6 separate regions of the Homo sapiens genome follow, and all the other regions are linked to region 2. Evidence: promoter capture Hi-C in human tissues and cell types (Jung and others, 2019). All regions are on one chromosome and are shown on one strand. The core of a region is centred on a gene start or on the middle of the fragment in contact, and the rest is flanking DNA. Distances in the headings are between cores, read along the strand shown.

The links. Contacts are between HindIII fragments. The study calls those that stand out against the background at their distance.
Region 1: a fragment that was not itself captured here is called in contact with the fragment with the promoter of GUCA2B in region 2 in 1 of the 25 tissues and cell types used here (dorsolateral prefrontal cortex).
Region 3: a fragment that was not itself captured here is called in contact with the fragment with the promoter of GUCA2B in region 2 in 1 of the 25 tissues and cell types used here (hippocampus).
Region 4: a contact is called between a fragment that was not itself captured here and the fragment with the promoter of GUCA2B in region 2, in 1 of the 25 tissues and cell types used here (aorta).
Region 5: a fragment that was not itself captured here is called in contact with the fragment with the promoter of GUCA2B in region 2 in 2 of the 25 tissues and cell types used here (hippocampus and pancreas).
Region 6: a fragment that was not itself captured here is called in contact with the fragment with the promoter of GUCA2B in region 2 in 2 of the 25 tissues and cell types used here (bladder and heart right ventricle).

The regions. Positions count from the first base shown.
Region 1 is chr1:41,663,897-41,666,596 of GRCh38, reverse strand. The region is part of intron 2 of HIVEP3 (HIVEP zinc finger 3); the gene reads left to right. Among named protein-coding and RNA genes, the nearest start is that of EDN2, 180 kb to the right of the region's middle. The HindIII fragment of the contact is 4,895 bases long and covers 1-2,700 here.
Region 2 is chr1:42,152,145-42,154,844 of GRCh38, reverse strand. GUCA2B (guanylate cyclase activator 2B) reads right to left here and starts at 1,435. Exons shown (of 3, transcript NM_007102.3): 1 at 1,305-1,435; 2 at 1-165. The coding sequence starts at 1,394. The HindIII fragment of the contact is 15,047 bases long and covers 1-2,700 here.
Region 3 is chr1:42,628,000-42,630,699 of GRCh38, reverse strand. All of the region lies in intron 15 of CCDC30 (coiled-coil domain containing 30), which reads right to left. The region is part of intron 1 of LOC124904162 (a long non-coding RNA gene); the gene reads left to right. Among named protein-coding and RNA genes, the nearest start is that of PPIH, 29 kb to the left of the region's middle. The HindIII fragment of the contact is 3,401 bases long and covers 1-2,700 here.
Region 4 is chr1:42,587,964-42,590,663 of GRCh38, reverse strand. It overlaps CCDC30 (coiled-coil domain containing 30), which reads right to left. Exons shown (of 21, transcript NM_001395517.1): 14 at 1,181-1,343. The region is part of intron 1 of LOC124904162 (a long non-coding RNA gene); the gene reads left to right. Among named protein-coding and RNA genes, the nearest start is that of PPIH, 69 kb to the left of the region's middle. The HindIII fragment of the contact is 4,504 bases long and covers 1-2,700 here.
Region 5 is chr1:41,860,892-41,863,591 of GRCh38, reverse strand. The region is part of intron 1 of HIVEP3 (HIVEP zinc finger 3); the gene reads left to right. Among named protein-coding and RNA genes, the nearest start is that of HIVEP3, 57 kb to the left of the region's middle. The HindIII fragment of the contact is 5,281 bases long and covers 1-2,700 here.
Region 6 is chr1:42,472,333-42,475,032 of GRCh38, reverse strand. The region is part of intron 1 of CCDC30 (coiled-coil domain containing 30); the gene reads right to left. It also overlaps a transcript of PPCS not described here. Among named protein-coding and RNA genes, the nearest start is that of CCDC30, 10 kb to the right of the region's middle. The HindIII fragment of the contact is 4,715 bases long and covers 1-2,700 here.

The DNA.
Region 1 (2,700 bases), core at 186-2,685, 490 kb after region 2:
GAGAGGAGGAGGATTCTGAGTCACCATATGGGAGGACAGTAATCAATGCTACTGTTTATTGAGCACCTACTATTTTGTACACTGAAGAGTTCTATTGCAGTGTCTTGTCAAAACTTCCCAGCAGCCCTTGGAGATGAGAACGTCAAGATCAGTGACATCAAGTAACATGCCCAAGGTGACACAGTAAATGTGGGGCTGGAGCCTGAACCCAGGTCTATGTGGCTCCAAGGCCCATGCTGTTATCCACAGCATCAAGTTAAGTCAGGAAGCTGGAAACACAGTTCTCAGGCTGGAGAGAAAGGATGGGAACTGAGTCTGGAGGACTGGACCTCAGGAAGGTGATATCCATAAAATGCAAACTCTAGTCTCTGTCCCAGGACAGAAGCTTCATGTGTGCAACAGGTCTATGAAGAGAGCACCTACCATACATGTGCACATGCACACACACACACATACACACACACACACACACACGCACACACACCCCAAACAGGAAAACAACCAAAGCATCTGAGTCCAGGAAAGCACAGCAATGGGGATGGAGGATGGAGAGGGGATGGTTGCTAAGTCAGTGTAAGACCTAAACATAAATAACCCAGAAGGCCCACAGGGCCTGGTTGCTCAGCCCCACCCCACCTTAAAAGTGCTCCCAACACACTGTGCTGGTCCCTAGCTCCTTGGGAGCAACAGTGGGTTCCAAAATTGTGTCTAATTTTGTTGTTATAAGCTGGAAACAAAATTCCATAGAGATAGCTTTCTAGATGGCAGATCAGATGCCAAACCTGCCCTCTGCTCTAATCTCTTTTAGCTTGTAAAGTCTCTACAGTGTGATGCTGGCTTTACAGCAGATCCAGACTGTGTGTGTGTGTGTGTGTGTGTGTGTGTGTGTATAACATTTCCGTGGAAACAAGCATTCAGCATTCTAGCCCGGGACACCTGGATCACAGTTTTCTTGAATTGTAGCTCCAGAAGTAGAATGAATCTTATCTTTCCATCTTGTATGCCCCTACTCCACCCCTCTCCAACCTTGTCAAACAGCAGTGTAACATTTAGCAATGGGATATCTGTTTACCTGTCAGTCTCCATCCATGAACACAGGCTTGTGTATTACATGTTCCCAACACAGAAATGGTGCCTGATTCATGTTTGAGGAATGCAGGAATGTGGGAAGGCCCCCAGGGCCAAGTACTGGGACTTTCTCAAGACCTGGCCCAGTTACTTGCAGGGGATGGGGCTGATAGGAAGGAACTGGCACCTGGTACCACCTGCCTTTCAGATACATGGTGGGAAAGGTGTCCTGCACCTCAACTCTGCCTTTCTGCAGACTGGTGGAGGCCTGGTCTGCAGGTGGGGGCTCACAGAGTAGAGTCGAGGTCAGGCTGGTAGCCTCGAAGCAGGGCTGTCTGCCCCCACCTTCTTTCTCTGAGCTCTGAGGCTGGAGTCCTGAAGACCTTCTGGCTTCCAGTGAGAATTGGCACCAGAACTGAGGTGGGGGCTGAGTCTTGAAGTGGGGACAGATGGTTGTGGGAGGAGCTAGGTGAGGGCTCCCCAGCTGACACTCCTGGCCTGGGGAATGACTACCGCTGGAAAGGCCTGCATGGCTTGGAAGGCTCAGGGGCATCCAGTCTGACTGTGTCTGGTACAATGAAAGGGCTTGACAAATTGCATTTTCCTTCATCCTTCCCCTCCACCTCATTAGGGCCAGCTCAGGACTCCGTGTTTTGGGGGGTTGGCATGGGGATATCCCAGGCTCCCTGATGGCTGCAGAGGAGTTTGTCAAGAGAAAGGAGGAGACAAATCCCAAGCCATCCCAGTCTCCTGAGCATTCAAGCCAGTCTAGCTGAGAACCCCGCCTTTCATCCCAGCCCCCAGCCAGGGACCCTAGGACATCAGCCACTGTTCTGGGTTGGGTAAATTCTCCCCCGTCCTCTGGTTAGTTTGTCTTAGGATTTGCCCCTCAGGACCATTCATTCACTTAACAAACATTTGTAAACTTATCAGTCCTGGGAGGGGAGAGGGATCAAGATGGAAAGTTCCCTGAAGCTCCCAGTCTGAGGAAGAGGAGGCCCCCAATAACTGACTTCAATGTGAGGTGATGGGCAAGTCTGTAGAGGCAGGAACTATTGAGTTGCCTGTGGCATCATGGAAGGTGACCAAATCCATTGGGAGGGTCCCTTGAGGCCAGGCCACCTCTCAAAGGGGAGGAGGATGTCATTCAACTTGGGGCAGGAGCAAGGCTGTCATCTGAGCCTGTGTGTGTGAATGATAGAAAGTCACCCCTCAGGGCATATGAATTATAACAAGGCACCCACCTCCTCTGCCTGGAGTTGCTTTCAGACAGAAAACGGGAAGCAGGACAGTGGGGGCAGGGCAGGAGTGGAGTGAGGAGCAGGAATCTGTCCCAGGGGGCACCCCACCCCAGTTGCCCTGCTCAAGAGAAGGACCTGTATCAAGGGCAGGCTTGGATTCAGGGTGTGAAGGACAGCTGGAGGGGGTGGAGAAGACATTTCAAAGGGAAAGCCTGTATGAAGACCTCAAGAAGTGGAAACTGGTGCAAAGTGGTGCGTGTTGGGGGTGGTGGCTGGGCAAATGGCAGGATGGGCTGAGCTCTGGGAGATGCAGCTGGTCCGTGGGGCCTTGCATGCCAGATCAGGAAGTGTGGTCCTTCCCTTTGGGGCTTTGTCAGAAGGAGGATGACCC
Region 2 (2,700 bases), core at 186-2,685:
AGCCTCCTGCGAGGCGCAGACAGGCTGAAGGTCCTGAGGCAGAGCAGGGTGGTGGCACACGGCGGGCAGGAGGCTCTGGGCCTGCAGGCGGGGGCTGGGTGCCCACTGTGCCTCCAGGTCACTCAGCTTCTTCATGGATTCCAGCTGGACCCGGAAGCCTTGGTACTACAGACAGGGGAGAGGAGATAGGAGCAGGTCAAGACCTGGTCCAGGGGCAGGCACTGCCATGACACCCAGGGTTGCTCAAACCCTGCAGATCCTCCAGAGCCTTCCCCGTCTCTATGGGAAGTCCAGGGCCACACTGGAAAGAGCCGCTGCGGTGAGAGGTGTGAGGAAGAAGCAGCGGGGCTGTGGAGCACAGTGGTTCGAGGCTTTAGAGACAGACAAGCCCTGGTTCAAATCCCACCTCTGCCCATGACCGGCTGCCTGTCTGTTCCCCACTCAGCCTCAGTTCCCTCATCTGACATCTCCCGTGGGGGCCTGGTACCAGGGCACAATCACTAACTGAGTACGCCTGCCTGAGCTCACATGGCAGAGTGATGGCAGCCCCAAGTAGCTGGTCTCTGAGGCCAGGGCTGTTGGGGAGGCCAAGTCTCCTGCACCCCTCTCTGGGACCCACTTTGTTCTTCCCAAGGAGACCATGCCCAGAGTCAGGGATGTGACACCCAGGGCCACAGACGTCTCTGCTATGCTGGGCGAGGCCAGCAGCATCCCCTGTGACGTGGCAGACAGGCCCTGCTGTGACGACTACTGCCACTCTCCCATGCCCCCTGGAAGGGCACTGGAACCCCCATAGTCTTCTATCTGGTCTTTGCACATGCTGTGCCCCTTGGCCTGGAACAGTTTCCCCATCATCTGTGTCTGGCAACCTCCTGTTCATCTTGCAATGCCAGCTCAAGGGTTACTTCTCAGGAAAATTTTTCTGGAGCCTGTCCTCCTCCACCTACATGTGGGTGAATATACGGAACTGTGGGAGCATAACAGGGTGTCTCCTTCCCTTTCTGGCCTCCTCCCATGCAAGGAGGAGCCTTCTGTTCCACACCCTGACCTCTGTGACCAGCACGGGCCTTTGAGGGGAGCAGCGCTGAATCAGTTTGGTGTTGTCATTGCCATCATCACTGCCATCAACATCTGGCTGCCCCCACCCACCAGCTGCCTTGGTCTCTGGGCTGTGATGGGTGTTGGGCTGAGCCCCGGGCCCCGTGCTCCCCCGGTGCCCCTCTGAATTCCCAGTACACCCTCTCCAGCCTAGCCTCCCACCATGGGGCCCTTCAGGCAAAGGGAACGCTGGCCAAGGGACTCACCTGGATGTAGACTGACTGTGTGCTCTGCAGCAGCAGCAGGAGGACCACGGCCACTCCTGGCAGGAGCCCTGATGCAGCCCTGCAGCCCATCGCGCTCCCTGGGTTCCCCCTGCCGCTGTCCACCGTCTCCCATCTGTGTCCCTGCCTAGCACCTCCTTATAGGTCAGGCTCAGGAGTCCTGGTCACTCATTAACTGGCCAGCTGGGGTGGGGTTGACAGCTAGCTGGCTCTCTGACAAGCCGGGGCTGGTTCCTAGGAAGGGGGTTGGGGGCGAGGAGGGCAGGAGCCCAGAGTCTATGGGAACACAGTGCTTGAACACCGAGTGCCTGCCATGTGCCGGGCTCTCCATGGGGGCCTTGGAGCACACCATCATTCACTCCTCAAGACACCTGTGTGGGTGTGATGACGGGGAGGCCATTTTACAGACAGGAAAAGTGAGGCTCAGGAGGGAGGGTGGCTTTCCCCAGGTCACGGAGCTAGTTAATGTCAGAGAAGGGGCTCCAGCCAGGTGTCCTTGGCCCAGGTCAGCCCATGGTCCTTTCTCTGGGGGAAGGATACAGACAGAGAGGCTGGTCCAGGGCAAAGTGGGCAGACACTGCTGATTTCAGGGTTCTCAAGACCCCACTCCCCCAAGACCCACATCTCTCTCACTCCCTCTCCTCAGTGCTATTTAACGACTATCTTTCAGACCAGTCCTGGCCCCACGTTTTGAACCTGCCTCTGCTTGCCATCTCCCACCTGTGCCTGGGTGCTTCAGGCCATGTTTGACCCATCTCACCTGTCTGTGCTTTCAGAAGCCAATAGCCTAATCCAGCATGGAGGAAAAGGCAGTAGTGTTGGAGGCAGATTGACCCGCATTCAAATCCTAGTCCTGCTGCAGCTGTGTGATTTAGGATACGTCACATCAATTCTAATGGAATCTTAGTTTTCTCTTCCATCAAATGGGCATGATACAACCCCTCTCGTAAGGTTGCTGTGAGGGCCCCGGCCCACCTGAGGTTGCCCTTATCTCCTGGGTAATGCATCCATAGCAGCCCCTGAATCTTACAGTTGCCTTCTAGGCAATGCATAACCTACTGCCCCAGTGGTTGAAGGTTGGGTCAGAGAGAAGAGGGCAAAGTCTCTAAGGGTGATATCACCACTGCCATACCAGGCAGCTGTAAACAGTGCGTGTGCCAGGGCTCAGCTCTGCCAGGCACAGACTCTGGCATGTGGCAGGCTCCCCTGACATTGAGCCTGAACGTTGGATTGAAGCCCTGATAGCTCACCTTGGCATTTAAGATGCCACTCCCAAAAGTGGCTAAAATCTGATGTCATCGTGCTTCCCCATACCAACCCTATTTGCACAGGTCTAATCCCATCTCATGTCTTTGCCTACTCATTCCACCTGCCTGAA
Region 3 (2,700 bases), core at 32-2,531, 480 kb before region 2:
CTATTTGAAAATACACAGGGCCAGGTGCGGTGGCTCACGCCTGTAATCCCAGTACTTGGGGAGGCCAAGGCAGGCAGGTCACCTGAGGTCAGGAGTTCGAGAACAGCCTGGCCAACATGGCAAAACCCTGTCTCTACTAAAAATACAAAAATAGCTAGGTGTGGTGGCACGCACCTATAATTCCAGCTACTCAGGAGGTCGAGGTAGGATAATTGCTTGAACCTGGGAGGCAGAGGTTGCAGTGAGCTGAGTTCATGCCATTGCACTCCAACCTGGGCAACAGAGCGAGACTCCATCTGAAAAAAAAAAAGAAAAAAAGAAAAAGAAAAGTAAATACAAAAGCAGAGGAGACAAAAGACAAAAGGAATAAAAAAGAATGAAGCACACCTACAGGATTTGGAAAATAGCCTCAAAAGGGCAAATCTAGCCAGGAACAGTGGCTCACGCCTGTAATCCCAACACTTTCGGAGGCCAAAGTGGGCAGATCACCTGAAGTCAGGCATTCACAACCAGCCTGGCCAACATGGTGAAACCCCATCTCTACTAAAAATACAAAAATTAGCTGGGTGTAGTGGTACATGCCTGTAATTCCAGCTACTTGGGAGGCTGAGGCAGGAGAATCGCTTGAACCCGGGAGCTAGAGGTTGCAGTTAGCTGAGATTGCGGCACTGCACTCCAGCATGGGCAACAGAGCCAGACTTCATCTCAAAAAAAAAAAAAAAAAAAAAAATAGGGGGACATATCTAAGAGTTATTGGCCTTAAAGAGCGTGTAGGAAAAGACACAGGGGCCCATGCAGCGGCTCACGCCCGTAATCCCAGCACTTTGGGAGGCTGAGGCCGACGGATCACGAGGTCAGGAGTTCAAGACCAGCCGGGCCAATATGGTGAAACCCCATGTCTACTAAAAATACAAAAATTAGCTGGGTGTGGTGGCACACACTTGGGAGGCTGAGGCAGAAGAATTGCTTGAACCCGGGAGGCAGAGGTTGCAGTGAGCCGAGATCGTGCCACTGCACTCCAGCCTGGGTGACAGAGTGAGACTCCGTCTCAAAAAAAAAAAGAAAAGAAAAAGAAAAAGAAATAGGAGTAGGAAGTTTATTCAAGGGGATAATAGCAGATAACTTCCCAAACCTAGAGAAAGATATCAATATCCAAGTACAAGAAGGTTATAGAACAACAAGAAGATTTAACCCAAAGATTACCTCAAGACATTTAATAATCAAACTTCCAAAGGTCAAAAATAAAAGATACTAAAAGCAGCAAGAGAAAAGAAACAAATTACATATAATAGAACTCCAATATGTCTGGCAGCAGACTTTTCAGTGGAAACCTTACAGGCCACGAGAGAGTGGCATGACATATTTAAAGTGCTGAAGGAAAAAACTTTTACCCTAGAATAGTATATCCAGTGAAAATATCCTTCAAGCATGAAGGGGAAATAAATACTTTCCCAGACAAACAAAGCTGAAGGATTTCATCAACACTGGTTCTGTCCTACAAGAAAAGCTAAAGGGAGTACTTCAATCAGAAAGCAAAGGACGTTAATGACTAATAAGAAATCTTCTGAAGGTATAAGACTCACTGGTAATAGTAAATACATAGAAAACCACAAAATATAACACTGTAACTGTAGTGTGTAAACTACTCTTAAGTAGAAAGACTAAACAATAAACCAATAAAAAATAATGACTACAACAATTTTCAAGACATAGTACAATAAGATATAAACAGAAACAAGTAAAAGTTTAAAAGTGGAGGGATGAAGTTAGGGTATAGAGTATTAGTTTTCTTTTTCCTTCTTTGTTTATGCAAACCATATTAAGTTGTAATCACGTTAAAATAATTAGCTATAAGATAGTGTATTAGTTTGCTTTCAAGCTGCTGATAAATACATACTCAAAACTGGGAACAAAAAGAGGTTTAATTGGACTTACAGTTCCACATGGCTGGGGAGGCCTCAGAATCATGGTGGGAGGTGAAAAGCACTTCTTACACGGCAGTGGCAAGAGAAAATGGGGAAGAGGCAAAAGCAGCAACCTCTGATAAACCCATCAGATCTCATGAGACTTAGTCACTATCACGAGAATAGCACAGGAAAGACTGGCCCCCATGATTCAATTACCTCCCCCTGGGTCCCTTGCACAACATGTGGGAATTTTGGGAGACAAAATTCAAGATAAGATTTGGGTGGGGACAAAGCCAAACCATATCATTCTGCCCCGGCCCCTCCAAATCTCATGTCCTCACATTTCAAAACCAATCATGCTTTGCCAACAGTCCCCAAAAGTCTTCATTCATTTCAGCATTAACCCAAAAGTCCACAGTTCAAAGTGTCATCGGAAACAAGGCAAGTCCCTTCTGCCTATGAGCCTGTAAAATCAAAAGCAAGCTAGTTACTTTCTAGATACAATGGGGGTACAGGTATTGGGTAACTACAGCATTCCAAATGGGAGAAATTAGCTAAAACAAAGGGGTTACAGGGCCCAGGCAAGTCTGAAATCCAGTGAGGCAGTCAATTTTAAAGCTCCAAAATGATCTCCTGTGACTCCAGGTCTCACATCCAGGTCACACTGATGCAAAAAGTGGGTTTCCATGGTCTTGTGCAGTTCCATCCCTGTGGCTTTGCAGGGTATAGCCTCCCTCCTGGCTGTTTCATGGGCTGGCATTGAGTGTCTGTGGCTCTTCCAGGTGCATGGTGC
Region 4 (2,700 bases), core at 121-2,620, 440 kb before region 2:
CCCAGCTCAAGTGATCTTCCCACCTCAGCCTCCTGAGTAGCTGGTACTACAGGTCCATGCCACCATATCTGGCTAATTATTTTTTTGTTGAGACAAGGGCTCACTATGTTGCCCAGGCTGGTCTTGAACTCCTGGCCTCAAGCAATCCTCCTACCTCAGCCTCTCAAGCGCTGGGATTACAGTTGTGAGCCACTGCTCCTGGTCCTCCTGCCTTCTTCTGAGCCCTCCAAACTCTTCCAATCTCTGCCTGTTACCCAGTTCCAAACTTGCTTCCACATTTTCAGGTATCTTTTTTAGTAACGCTCCGCTTCTTGGTACCAATTTTCTGTGTCAAGCTGTTCTTGCACTGCTATAAAGAAATACCCGAGACTGGGTAATTTATAAAGAAAAGAAGTTTAATTGGCTTACAGATATGCAGACTATACAGGAAGCATGGTATCGGCATCTGGTCAGCTTCTGGTGAGGGACTCAGGAAGCTAACAATCATGGTGGTAGGTGAAATGGGAGCAGACATGTCACACGGTGATAGTGGGAGCAAGAGAGAGCGGAGAGGTGCCACACACTTTTAAACATCTAGATCTCGCAATAATTCATTATCGTGAGGACAGCATCAAGCCATTTATGAGGGACCCACCCCCATGACAAAACCACCTCCTGTTAAGCCCCACCTCCAATGATGGGGATTACATTTCAGCAAGAGATTTGGAGAGGAGAATCATCCAAACTATATCAGAAGTGAAGTATTCAGAGTGGTACGAGTATAGAAAGAAGAAACAGGTTTGTTTGTCTTTCCCCCCAACAGTTCTTTAGCACTAGCAGATGGATAAAAGGGCAGACAACAGATGAGACATTTGTAGGAGCTTCAGGACAGTTCCTGCAAATTCTCCACTTTGACGCTGCAGGAGGTGGCTTCTCTGTGATTTCTGAACTTCTGGATTTATTGAAAGCTAGCAGCAGTCCTTTCTGACTCTACTCTCCCCTGGTCCCTTCCAACTGTTTTGTAAGCTCTTATTCCCTGTGTTAAATCTCTTCTTGCTTGAAATACCTAGAGTAGATTCTACTTTCCTGACTGAACCCTGACTAAAGGATTAGGTTTAGTAAAGTGCTAGGCACTCAATAATAATTAGCTGTTACTAATGGGAATAGGAAAACTGAGAAGCATGTCTATTTACTTTCTTACCTCATCATATTTTCTTTTTTCATTTTCCAGTTGTTTAAGTAGGGCCTCTTGTTGCTGAATTCTGGATTGTTGCTGAGAACAGGTCATTTCCAGTAGATTTTCTTTATCTTGTAAGGTTCTCACTTGCCTGTGTAACTCATCTACGTTCTGATATAGAAGTTTCCTGAGGGCAATTAATGTAGATTAAATCACACCATGAATTGCAAATGAAATTCAGACCTAAAATTTTTATGGCATCACAAGGGATTTTTTTTTTTTTTGGTTCAATGAAGTAGGGTATGTGTCTATAAGCTAAAGGGACCAACACAGGGAACCTCTTTTGTGATAGAAGCTTTCCTTACTTCTCTCACTCACTCATCAAAATGACCCTATGAGGAAAAAGTAGTTGTCCTTATTTCAGAGATGAGGAAGTTGTGGTAGAGAGAACAGTTAAGACAAAGTGGAGGTAGGGCTCGAATCCTGAATCCCATATTCTTTCTTCCTTACTGCTTTACGAGTTGAGCCCTTCATCTTCTGGGTTCAAGGTAATGTTAGTTACAAGCACTATTGATAATAATAAGCACACATTAACACTGCTATAAATGAATCATAAATGAGCCTGCATTTTATGAGAAAATTTACCATTTTCCAAAAGAGGGTAAAGGAACTCACAGAATTTTACCTCAAATATGGTATCCTGGTATACTAAATATTTTGAATGAAAGGCCCTTAGAGATCAGCAGATGCTAGAAGAGGCTTTTCTCTTATCTGCGTGAAGACTGGACTTACCAAGGAGAACAATTATACCCATCCCCTCCCTGAAACTGCATTATTTATGGATCTTCAGAAAAGAAGATTGAGGAATATAACAACACCTCCACAGACCTTTTCACAAGACAATGGCTATCTCTTAAACTCATTCAAATTCCCAGGTAAATAATTTATGAATTAATTTTTGTCTCCAGGGTCCCTTCACTCTCCCTAATGAGTTACTGTCCCTTGGAATTCTCTACATTCCTCATCTCCCTCTCCCCTGGAAATGGGTATATAAGCTTCTGCAACACACTTAGACACTGGGTCATCACACTTGATTTTCCCCACCCCACGTTAATAAAATTGTGTTTGCTTTTTCTCCTATTAATCTGTCTTTTGTCAGTTGACTTTTCAGAAAACCTTCAGAAGGGGAGGGGAAATTTTCCCTCCACCCCTACAAGGGCCATTAGCACTCTTTCAGTCTCATCATGAAACCAGCCCAACTGTCCCACAGAAATTACACTTACAGTTTTTTAAACAAATGTAGAAATGTACCCTCCCAGTCTTAAAACTTGAAATTTATATCTGAGTTCCTCCCTCAGGAGACTGACCCTCAGGCAAGAAACTAAAATTCACCAGATCGTAGCATACAGAAAATGAGATGCCTCATTCCTCATGATTGGTTCCTTACCCCTCACTAATTCCTGTTTTACATTCCTTCCCTGCTATAACCCCCCAAATTTTAGTTGGTCAGGGAGATAGATTTGAGACTGATCTCCCATTCTCCT
Region 5 (2,700 bases), core at 174-2,673, 290 kb after region 2:
GCAAAAGTACAGAAAGCATAATGCCCACTGGGATTTCAGCTTCCATTTGGGAAGACCTTCCTTTCTCTGAAGGTCTGGTCCCCACTCCCTGAACTGGCACATGGTATCACCTCCCCTTTCCTTTCTTCTTTTGTCCCATTCCAAGAACCTATATTATTTTTGAGCCGGAGTTCAGATGTCTTCCTAGTTTAGTCAGGGTTGTCTAGGAAACTAGAAATAACTGCAGATTCCAGGCTCTACAGATCAGGTGATCCTTGGCTCCTCTCTTCAGAGCCATGTTAATTCCTGCCATCCTTTTCCAGCGTTCTCTGCTTTTTCCTGCCCTCACATTACTGGGATCACCCCCACCTTACGCAGTTTACTTTCAGCTCCCCAGCAGAAGCAGATCTGACCCTGCAGCTTAACTTCCCAGGAGGCAGTTGCTGGTAGCAGTCGATGCTGGGTGACATGTGCACAGATGACTCTGCGTCTGGGAACGTATGTGACAGTGGAGGAGGAACGCCTGTGAAATTCAACTTCTGTTTGACTCATCCTTGCCTTCCAGGAACTGGAGGAGGTGTGCATTTGAGACTGTTCAAGTCCATTTCACCTTAAGCATTGCTCTTGTGTGTGTGTGCATTCATTGTTTCCTTCCCTCCCGCTGCCATTCAGAATAACTGCAGCTGTGAGCCACTGCACTTGGGGTTACCATCTGAAAGGGAACCTGCTTATCTTCCGTCTATATCTGCCAAGTGAGAAAACTTGTCTCTACGTCAGTAAAGCTGGGCAGTGATGATATCCCTTGTTTTCAGGGATCTTTATCTGATTCCCTTGCCTGACTCCTAAAACCTAAGTCTCTGACCTGCCCTCCAATTCTCTTTTCACAACAAGCTGCCTGTCTTTGTCAAGATCTGTGGTCCACAGTCCTGTTGAATCTGTAGTTCATTTCTTAGACTCCCAGTGTGTCTAAAGAAATAGGAGGCAGGAGGCAAGCTTGGAGGGAATGGGAAATGTTGACAGCCATGCAGAAATGGATGGGGAGAGATGCATGCCAGGATGTTTGCAGTGGCTTGGGGGTGGAGGCAGAGGAGGTGCTGGGTGGCAAAGAGGAGGGAAAGAGAGGGGAGAGGGGAGGAGAAAAGAAAACAATGACTCAGTTCTTACACACTGAAGCATATGCATAAGTGTGAAAATAACTAAGCCCTACAGTATTTCAGCAGAAGGAAGGATTAGAGTTCTGGATTTCTGAGGATTTCTATCTTGTTCTCATGACTGCTCTTAGCTTATGGTCAGATAAATGTTAGGGGAGCATCAACGGAAGGAGCAAGAGAGGTGGAGAGGAGTGCAGAGCCCACACTTGTTGCTTATTTGTTTGGACAGACAGCCATTTCATTGGTGGATAAAACTTCACTTAACTTGTTAACTCCCCTTTGAAATGAGGAAGCATTGTCCGTAGCCTCGTGCTTCCAGTCAGTGCCACCTTTGGGTGGTCTGGCCTTTTTAAGTTCTTGTAAAGCTGCTCGAACCTGTGTCTTTATGTCTGACGATGCCACCTCCACCTCACATCCCCCAAGTTTTAAAATTCAGAACTGCCCCTGACTCATCCTTCATCCGCCCCCCGGCCAAATTTGTTTCCAAGCCCTTTAGATATTTGCTTTGTGGTATCTTCCAGATCTATTTCTTTCTCTCCCGTTGCCAACACCGTGGCCAGCCTGGTCTACACTGTAAAAGCTTTCTAATGTTCTCATCACCTCTCGTCTAGTCTGCATCCCCACAAAAAGCTAAAGTCTTGAAGTTTTTATTTAATTATGTTAATCTGCTGTTCACAAGTCTCCAACTGCTCCCTGCAGCTTATTGGAGAAAGCCCAAGCTTCTCTGTGTGGGATTCAGACCTCTCTGAAATCTGGCCTCCTTCCTTCCTATCAACGCTCTCATCTCTGCCTCCCTTGCACAAATCCTCCTCCCAGGGCTGGAAATGCAGGCAGCATGTGCAGGATGCAGAGCCTGTCTCATGCGGCGCTCACAGTCTCCCCACATCCCCAGAGGCCAGCTCACTTCTTAGCCACCTGCCTAAAATTTCCCCACCCTTCAAGGTAAACTCAATCCATTTTCCCATAAAGGCTGACCTGCATCCTCCTGAAAATGCCAGCTGCCCTCTTGGGCCTCTAGCAGAACACACTCCTGGATTCTTTGTGCCTTGATTTACCGTATTGCCAGCTACCATTGTGAATCTCATCTCCTTGGTTAAATCATAAGCCCTTAGAGTAGAGCAACTAGGTTTTTCTTTTTTCATTTCTTTTTTATAACCCTAGTGCTTGGCCTGGTGCAGTGTGCTCACAGGCCTCCATGAATTATTTTGGAGGAATTAAAGTGGACTTATCGGGCAAGCTACAAAGTGACTTTGTGTATTCAGCTATAACATGGTCCCCAGATGGAGCATGGTGTAGGAGTTTTATTTGGAGTCATTAGCCATTCTGCCCATACTGACGGACACAGGCAGTGCTATAGGCTGTGAATGGCACACAGCTTTTAACCACCACCCACCTCCAGTGCCCTGGCTCGAGTGTGCTGAGGGGCTGGCAGCAAGGCCTCTCCTCCCTCGTAGTTCGGGATTTTAATCACGTTGCCAAGAACCTAGTCCTGGCTTTGCCTCAATCTGATTCCACCTCCCTCCTGGAAGATGTTCTTCTTTTTGCTTTATTTTGGCTGCCAGTTTCGCTG
Region 6 (2,700 bases), core at 137-2,636, 320 kb before region 2:
CATGATATCCATGAACAGAAAAAAATCTACATAATAATTAGGTTTATACTGCTATGCTGAAACTGATGGCTAAGATGATTAAATGTTAACAGGAGATTACATTAAAAATTGTTGTGTATTCTTTGAAAAGCTTGCAGTTAATATAACGGCTTCACAAAAAGCTACTTTTATGTGCATAATAACAGGTAGAAAGCGAATATGCTCCAGGCACTATATTAAGTACATCAAATATTTAATTGTCTCCACAACCACATGGGACTATTATTCTCCCACTTTGGAGGTGAAGAAGCAGGCTTAGAGAGGCTAAGAGACTTGCCTTGTCACATAGGGAATAAGGGGAGGAGCTAGAATTCATACTCTGATGGGTAGAAACCAGAGACTGAGTTCTTAGTACGCCAAAGTGCTTAGAAGTAGACTACCGAAATAACTGAATTGCATTTTGGTGAATTCTTTGGAAGCCTATAGGAAAACTCCTTAAAATATGTACAGAAAGATGAATAGTATAGAAGGAACATAGGAATCACAGTTCAACTTTATCACTTCCTGGCAAACTTTCGTTTCCTCTTTAAAATGGCAGGAACAATATCCATTTCTAATGATAATAGCTATCATTTATTGAACACTTGCTAGGTGCCAAGTACATGGGTAATTTATACACACTAACCTGTATAAATCTCACAAATCCCTTTGAAGATGCTATTAACATCTCTATCTTACAGACAGAAATTTCAAGCTCAAAGCAGTTGAGTAACTTGCCCAGAGTTAAACAGAAAGATAATGCTAAAGGCAACTTTTCACCCCCATCTGCCTAATGTTAAAGTTCACACTCTATGATGCTATACTGCTTTTCATTCTAAAGGAGCTGCATTCTTCTTTAGAATTTGGAGATTGGATTGTCCTTTAAGAATTAAATTTAAAAATGTTACCTGTGTGAAGCTGAGATGTGAAAACATAGCAGAGTGATTCCCAGGCAACCTGAGATAATTCATTAGTTCATTTAAAGAAAGTATGTTGATGAGTATTGGAAACATCCAAGAGAGTAACAATAGGGCCAAAAAAAAAATAGCTTTATCTACTCCTCTAAGCACTAGGTGCCTGGTCCTAGGATATGAGGTCCAGAAACGAGGGTAGATATAGATAGCCCTATTGTGGAAACCTGGCTATCTCAGCCAATGCTATAAAAAGTTAGAATCATTTGTTCACCAAGTAAACATCTAATTAAAAGTTGGCTTCCCACATAATGTGCCTGTAAGAGAATACATCAGCCACCAAAAATACATGTTTAGTTCCTCTGGCAATTATATTTCTTATTGTCAATTAAAAAGGAGGTGTCTCATCTCTATGACTTTGGTTAATACAAGCCCACCTTTGAGAAGCAGATCCACTGATACTATGCCGACATTAGTTTCCAAGCCTTCAAAAAAAAGAGTCACCTAGAAGGTCAGCTCCTGAGAGAAGGATGACTTTACCAAGATAATGAAAGCTACCTGGAGCAGTCCTGTTTAGATGTTCAGCCAGTCATCACTGGGCAACATCCTATACATGGAGTCTTAATGGAAACCAACACAGACTGTTGCCATGTTTCATTAGAAAAAAAAAAAGGTCTACACGTGGGTGCTTTTCAAACTATACAGTGATAGCCAAACATTAGTTTTTAATATGTCAATTTAATGAAGGGCAATGAACAAAATCACAGGTGTCTTTAAAATTCTATGCTATTAGTTCTCACTTCTTTTGTTTCACCCATGTGCTTCACTATAAGCTCTTCTACATCTGTGGTAGCAGTCCTCAGCCTGTCTTCACTGTGCTGGCTGGAATAAGCACCAAACAGAGTTGTTCTTCTGTAGTAGCAAGGGGATTGATTTCTTCTTTTTCAAGATGGTGAAGTATGTCTTCTAACTGAACTTTTCCCTTGATAGAAGAAATAAGCATATGTATATGAACACACACACACACACAACTGAGGATGCAAGATATCTATGTGGGTGCCACCTTAGTCTCCTTATTAGAGTACTAGTCTTTAGGGTACTAGCAATAGAAAGCTAGTAAGCTACCTGAACCTTCATCACACTTATGTATGTGTATGTATATATATCTTGGAAAATCCAAGATATTTCTAAAGAACAAAATATAGCTGGCAATACACATACAAAGCTGCTATGTGAGGAAAACTGAAAGCAGGAATAAAGAAGTCTATGTATATATGACTAGAGTCAGACTCTCTACAATGTATATTTTACTTTTCCTGTTGTTATCTAGTTATGAGCACTTAAATGAAACAGCTGGTAATACCGAAAAATGTAAGCTTTGAACAACTGTGTATCTTCTAAAATAACAAATGACATGATATACTTAATGAAAATTATGTACAATGGAAAAAAAAAAAGCTTTTCTGTCTGTTCTAAAGTTTGCAACTTTTATCTGAAAAGTCTCCCAAAGGGCTCTTGTTTCTTTTTTAAAGTCCAAAGAAGTCTTTGTTCCTTTTATTGCATATTTAGAAATAAAAGGATTCCTCTGGAAGCTAGAGAGGCCCCTAATTCTATACTATCCAGGATTTATTTTACTCACAGAATATGTCTTATAATTTATGTTGACTTCTCATTAATTCAGTTCTTTTCTGCAACTTCTTGGTCTAAGCCTGCTATCAATATCAATTTTTTTAGGTTGCAAGTAATCATGACATAACAGTTTGCAGTATGA